2 separate regions of the Homo sapiens genome follow, and region 1 is linked to region 2. The links are contacts of gene promoters, found by promoter capture Hi-C in blood cells and fetal thymus (Javierre and others, 2016). All regions are on one chromosome and are shown on one strand. Each heading gives the region's core, a stretch centred on a gene start or on the middle of the fragment in contact. The rest is flanking DNA. Distances are from core to core; before and after follow the strand shown.

Region 1 (2,960 bases), core at 146-2,645, 91 kb before region 2:
ACTAGGGGAGGATACAATAAAGCTGATAGTCATAAGACATTTCACAGACTAGGCTCTGCCAAAGAACACAATCATCTGATTCCCTTGTCCCTACAAAGTAAGAATCTTGGAAATCATCTATTCTCATTCTTATTTTACTAAAGAGGAACCTGAGAAAATGTAAAGTGATTGATAAGCCATATTTTCTCAATCCATTTCCGTATATTTCAGGAAGCTTGATCCCAAGGAAAAGAGGGTGCTCCACAGTCAAAGGGAGAAGGAAACTGAGGAATGGTTAAGACTGTCAGTACCCACTCATCATCATTTACTGAGCATTTACTAGATGCTAAGCACCAGAAGTCCTATGTTAGCAAAGGCAGACAAAGAAAGCCCTATGTGTTTAAAATTTAACAGATAATAAATCAGAGCCAGACTGGGCGCGGTGGCTCACGCCTGTAATCCCAACACTTTGGGAGGCCGAGGCAGGCGGATCACCTGAGGTCGGGAGTTCGAGACCAGCCTGACCAACATGGAGAAACCCCATGTCTACTAAAAATACAAAACTAGCTGGGTGTGGTGGCGCATGCCTGTAATCCCAGCTACTCAGGAGGGTGAGGAAGGAGAATCGCTTGAACCCGGGAGGCGGAGGTTGTGGTGAGCCAAGATTGCACCATTGCACTCCAGCCTGGGCAACAAGAGCGAAACTCCGCCTCAATAATAATAATAATAATAAATAAATAAATTAGAGCCAAAAATAAAGTAAATGCAACAAGCACATTAAAAACAAACAAACAGTAGTTTAGGAAAATGAAAAGTTTAGCAAGTCTCTCTATGAATGGAACAGGAAAGACATGAAGAAAAATTAAAAACTGGGTAAGGACTAAATAATTCACTCACCTTGCAATTTAAGGATTTGTTTAGAAAGAGTGTGTACATTCATTACTGGGAAAGTATTTCTGGTGACCAAAAAAATCCCACAGTAACAACACTGAAGTATTTTTCACAAGAACCCTTAACCCCCTTACTTCGCCACAAGAGGGTGCACATTTCCTTAGGAATACAGTAACCCAGGGAAACCTGCTCAAGTTCCTCTAGGCAGCTGCTCACCTCTGCTCCGGCACCTCTCTCCCTAGCCATGGCAGTAATGAGCATCTGCACATAGTTACATAGGTGAAACGTGTTCACATACTTTATCTCATTCAATTCCAACAACAGCTCTGTGAGGGCGGGTTGGGCAACTTATCAACCCCATTTTATAGAAGAGGAAACACACTCAGAGGTGAAGTGACTTGCCCAAGGTCAGAGAGATCATAATGCTAGAGCCCAAATGCAAACTCACGTTGTCTAGTTCCCAAATCCTGTATACATTTTCCTTACCTCCCTATTAAAGCATAATCAAAAATTCCACAATCGTTCAGCGTCTCTGTTCATCCATTCTACTTCTTCTGAGCAAAGAATCATACACTGGGCAGATGAGAAACTGCTCACTTTTGCATTGTTAAAAACGAGTGAAAGCTGGTTTTTAACAAGTGTGTGTTAGCACCTGGCAATTATCTTTATAGGTTTCCAATGAAGTGAGAAGTACGCTGAAACTTGTCTACAGTATTTAAGGCAGCAGTAACGTGGAAAAAAATAATTTTAATTTTCCTGCTTACAGCAGGGAAATTAATTGTAAGCTCAACTTTCTTTGGACAGATCTTATGAGACTCAGGCTAAAACCTAACTCCAAAACCCTCCTCCTGTCAGAAACACTAGAGTATAGAGGTCAAGGATTTTGGAGTTGGATGCCAGGCTGCCTGGGTTCAAATCCAGGTTTTCCCACTTACCATTTGACCTTGGCCAATTACTCAACTCCGACGTGCCTCAATCTCCCCTCTGCAGAGTGGAGATAAGAGCAGCAGCTCCCTCACACTGTAATAGCGAAGACAGCGTTGTAACATGAAAGCACACATAAGTGCTCAAGCTACAAAAGGCAGTCCTTACTCTAAAAGGCAGATGAGATTATTAATGTTACAGACTAAAGAAAATATATTAATTTTATGTGCATTTTATCAGTGAATTACATTTTATGACAATATCAATGCTTGAAAATACATTTAAATCCTTTTTTTTTTTTTTTTGAGACCAAGTCTCGCTCTGTCGCCCAGGCTGGAGTGCAGCGGCATGAACTCAGCTCACTGCAACCTCCGCCTTCCGGGTTCAAGTGATTCTCGTCCCTCAGCCTCCCGAGTAGCTGGGACTACAGGCATTAGCCACCACACCAGGCTAATTTTTGTATTTTTAGTAGAGATGGGGTTTCGCTGTGTTGGCCAGGCTGGTCTTGAACTCCTGACTTCAGGTGATCCACCTGCCTCGGCCTCCCAAAGTGCTGGGATTACAGGCATGAGCCACTGTGCCTGGCCTTACATCCCTTAATCTATGTGCACAGCAATTATGTCTATCTTAAAGGATTTACAGCATAAATATAAATAGCTAAGAACAAAGCTCTCATATCTTTGCTTTTATGACAGTGTTTGGCATTATCGATGGTCAGTCTCATGCCAAGTCCTTGGTCAAGAAAAAAGAGCTAAATTACAGAGTTCCTCCGGGAGGAGATAATAAGCTTTACACAGCAGAGGGGAAGGCTCCTTACCCCAGGAACCTGAAGACCCAGGCTGTACTTACAGCTCTGCCACTAAATAGCATCTCCTAATCCCACATCCATAACTCTTAAATATTTCTAAAAATATACCTTTTCATTTCCATCACCATGATCTTAATTCATATCCTTAACAGCATGGACTCCTAACTAGCCACAGAAGTGGAGCTCATTAAGTTTGTTGAATGAGTGAATGAATGGGGGGTGGGATAGTGACACCAAAGAAGACCACAGAAAACGGGGGAGAAGATTAGTTTATAAACTATATGCATACACTTTGTTATCTCAAGTCCTAGCTCAGCTCTGATTTCACAGAATGCTGGACCACTCCAGTAAGGCTAAC
Region 2 (3,024 bases), core at 157-2,656:
CCCCGAGAAAACGAGCCGAAGCCCCCCGGAGTCCGCCGCAGCGACAGCCCTGTCCCTGCCCGCTCCTGGGTGTCACCTTGGCCTCGCCGCCGCCCCGCCCCCACTCCACACGCCGGTGGGGAAGGGGCTCCCGCCGGGCCGGGGTTCGGGGGGCGCCGGCCGGGGCCCGGGGGCCCGCGCGGCTGGGAGCGGAGCGTGTGCTGGGGAGAGTTGGGGAGTGCGCGCGCGCGAGTGTGTGTGTGTGTCGCTCTCCGTCTCCTGTCTGGGCTCCAGCGCGCTCGCGGGCCCCCCGGTCGCCTCTTTCCCGGTTCTCAACCCTGGCCCCCACCGAGTTGAGACAGGGCACCTCGTAAAAAGGTGCTTCTGGCCGAGCGGGAGGCGGGGGGACGGGCGGCGGAAAGCCCCCAGCCCCGAGTTCTTCTCAATAAAATCGGACAAAAAATTCAGAGAAAAATAGGAGCGCTTGAGAGAGCAAGCGAGAGGGGACTGAGGTTCGGGAAAGGACCGAGGGGATGTGCCGTCGTGCGAGGGCTGGGGCTGGGGGAGCCCCGAGATCTCGAAGGGGGTCACCAGGGTGGCGCCGAGGGGGTGCCAAAAGTGGGGGGCCGTGGGGCGAGGTGGGGAGGGGGCTCGAAAGGAGAGTGCGGCTCAGGAGACGCCAGAGGGCGAGAGGTTCTGGGCACGAGGCACTGGAAGAGAGAAGGTCCGGCCGGGGGAGGAGGAAGAGACGCTGGATTTGGGGAAGGGGGGACCCTGACAAAGGGGGTGACAGGAAGGTCAGGGGAGAAGTGAGACAGGGGACGCTCAAAGGGTGGGGGGCGGGGAAGCTCAGAGCAGCCCGGGGCGCCAGGCGAACGAGGGGTGCCCCTAAGGAGCCGGCGAGCCTCGGGAGCCTTCGGAGCGGCACGGGGGGCGCCCCAAGGCTGCGGCCCCGAGGGCGAGGGCAGAGTCCAGAGCTGTGGGGGGAGGGGAGCGGGCCGTCCCAGGAGCGGGCCGGCGGCGAGAGTTGAGGGTCTGGTGCGTGGAAGTGAGCGTGCGGGCGCGGGAGCCGCCGCCGGGCGCCGCCCGCCGGACTCGGCCTCCCTCCCGGCGCCGTCCCGGCCTGAGCGGGGCGAGGCGGGGGGAGGGGGCCGCGCTGAGTGCTCACCCGAGAGGGTCTCGATGGCGCGGATGGCCCAGTTCTGGTCGGGGTAGTCCACGAAGGCGTAGCCGGACTTCAGCAGGACCTGTCCCGCCAGGGGCAGCTTCCTGTCCCCAAAGAGCTGCCGGAGGTCGTCGGCGGTGACGGCGGGGCTCAGGTTCCCGATGTAAAGCTTGTTCATCATCCGTCTCTTCCCCGAGAGCCCGCGGCTCCCCCGGCCCGGTACCCGGCGCTCCTCGCCTCCTCCGCTGCCCTCGTCTCTCCTCCTCCTCCGCCCCCCCTCCCCGCCCTCCGCCCGCCCGCCACCCACCCCCACCCTCAGCCTGGCTCCCCCCACCGCGGCCGGCCCGGCCCGCCCGGGGGCAGAGGCGGAGGCGGGGACTCGGCGCGGCTGCCTCCTCGGGGCAGAGTCCCGGGCCGGGCGGCGGCGCGCGGACAAAGCGCTCTCTCTGCCTCCCTCTCTCTCCCTCTCAAGGCGGTGGCGGGAGGAGGAGCAGCGGCGGGCGGCGGCAGCGCACCCCGCGTGTGTCTGTGTGAGAGTTTGTACGGGCGTGTGCGCAGCCGAGAGGGAGCGAGCGAGCGCCCCCTCCCCGCCCCGCGCCGCTGCGCCCCTCGCCTCGCGCCCACCGCGCTCGGCAGTGGCTGCTCGGGCTCCGGCCCCGCGCCAGGCGGGCGGAAGCGGGTCGCGGCCCCGGGCTGGGGCTCCGGGCGCCGGAACCCCGGGCGGGCGCGGCGCCGAGGCCGGGCGAGCGGCGGGGCGGGGAAGGCGCGCCCCGGGCGCGGGTGGGAGCGCGCGAGGGGGCGACGGGGAGCCGCGGGCGTGGGAGGGAGAGGGGCTGCGAGTGAGCGCGGAGAGGGGTGTGCGCAAGGTGGACCGGATGTGAGTGCGCTGCTGCCAGGGCAAGCGGGAAGGTGTGTCCCGGAGGTGAGAGGCGAGGGCAGGCTGGGAGACAACAACTTTCGCAGCGACTTGGCCGGGGCTGGCGCCCTGCGCGTTCCCGGGCCGTGCGCTCGCTCTGAGACCCGCTCCCCGCCACGCTCTCTGAGGTGACCGAGCGGCGCGTGTGGTCGAAGGATCGCGCGCGGGAGTCGGGACGCCTAGGACCGGGGTTGGCCGGGCCCTCGCGGACCGTGCTCGCGGGGAAGTGGTTCCCGGTCCCGGGCCTCAGTTTCCCGACCGGGGAGGGAAGGCGGAAGGCCAGCGCGGAGTCACGTCCTCTCCGCCCAGACCCCGCGTGTCCGGAACCCCGCGGCAGGCGGCAGCCTGACGTTGGCAGCTGCTCTCTATTCTGGGAAGTGCCGAGGGCTTCCCGGGCGGCGGCGGCGAAAGCCAGGTGGCGGGTGGGGAAACGAACGCCGAGGGGCCAGGGACTGCGGCGAGGCCGGAGCGCTGGGGTCAGCGGCCGGGGGACGGATGGTCGCCGCCCGGCTGCGCGGCCGGTTCAGCTCCAAAGCCAGGGTGGTGGGAGGCGAGGGTGGCTGGAAGCGGAGGAGCGCAGGCTGTGTAGGAGTTCCCCGAGCACTGGGAAGGGCCCGGAGAGGAAAGAGGTCCTTCCAAGCGGAGGAAACAACGTGACCGACGGAAGAGGCAGGGTTGGGATGAGAGCAGGCTGGAGCCGAGGGGCTCGGGCAGGAGCCAGACAGGCTAGAGCGGGCTGCAAGTTCCGGGGCCCGGCTGGAAGCCTGATGGTTAGAGCCTGGTCCCAGCCAGGAAATGAAATTCTACAGGAGGGAGAAGAATGGCGGGATTCAGAGGTGAGGAGGCAGAAGAAGATTCCAAGCTCTGGACCTCTGGGGGCCACTGGGAGAGTTGAAGGTTTGATCGCGGATATGTTGGGTTTTGTGAAGGCGTTGGGGCGCGGGTGCGGGGAGTGTCCTTGGGT

Evidence for each region. The method cuts DNA at HindIII sites, captures the fragments that hold promoters and counts their contacts. A CHiCAGO score of 5 or more calls a contact.
Region 1: a contact is called between a fragment that was not itself captured here and the fragment with the promoter of IGF2BP2 in region 2, in 2 of 17 cell types (megakaryocytes and endothelial precursors). The highest score is 7.7, in megakaryocytes.

Annotation. Positions count from the first base shown.
Region 1 is chr3:185,733,065-185,736,024 of GRCh38, forward strand. The region is part of intron 2 of IGF2BP2 (insulin like growth factor 2 mRNA binding protein 2); the gene reads right to left. Among named protein-coding and RNA genes, the nearest start is that of IGF2BP2-AS1, 21 kb to the left of the region's middle. RefSeq lists a silencer at 941-990. The HindIII fragment of the contact is 2,367 bases long and covers 213-2,579 here.
Region 2 is chr3:185,823,636-185,826,659 of GRCh38, forward strand. It overlaps IGF2BP2 (insulin like growth factor 2 mRNA binding protein 2), which reads right to left and starts at 1,407. Exons shown (of 16, transcript NM_006548.6): 1 at 1,148-1,407. The coding sequence starts at 1,325. RefSeq lists an enhancer at 1-273 and silencers at 1,213-1,443, 1,455-1,724, 2,135-2,224. The HindIII fragment of the contact is 1,788 bases long and covers 1,312-3,024 here.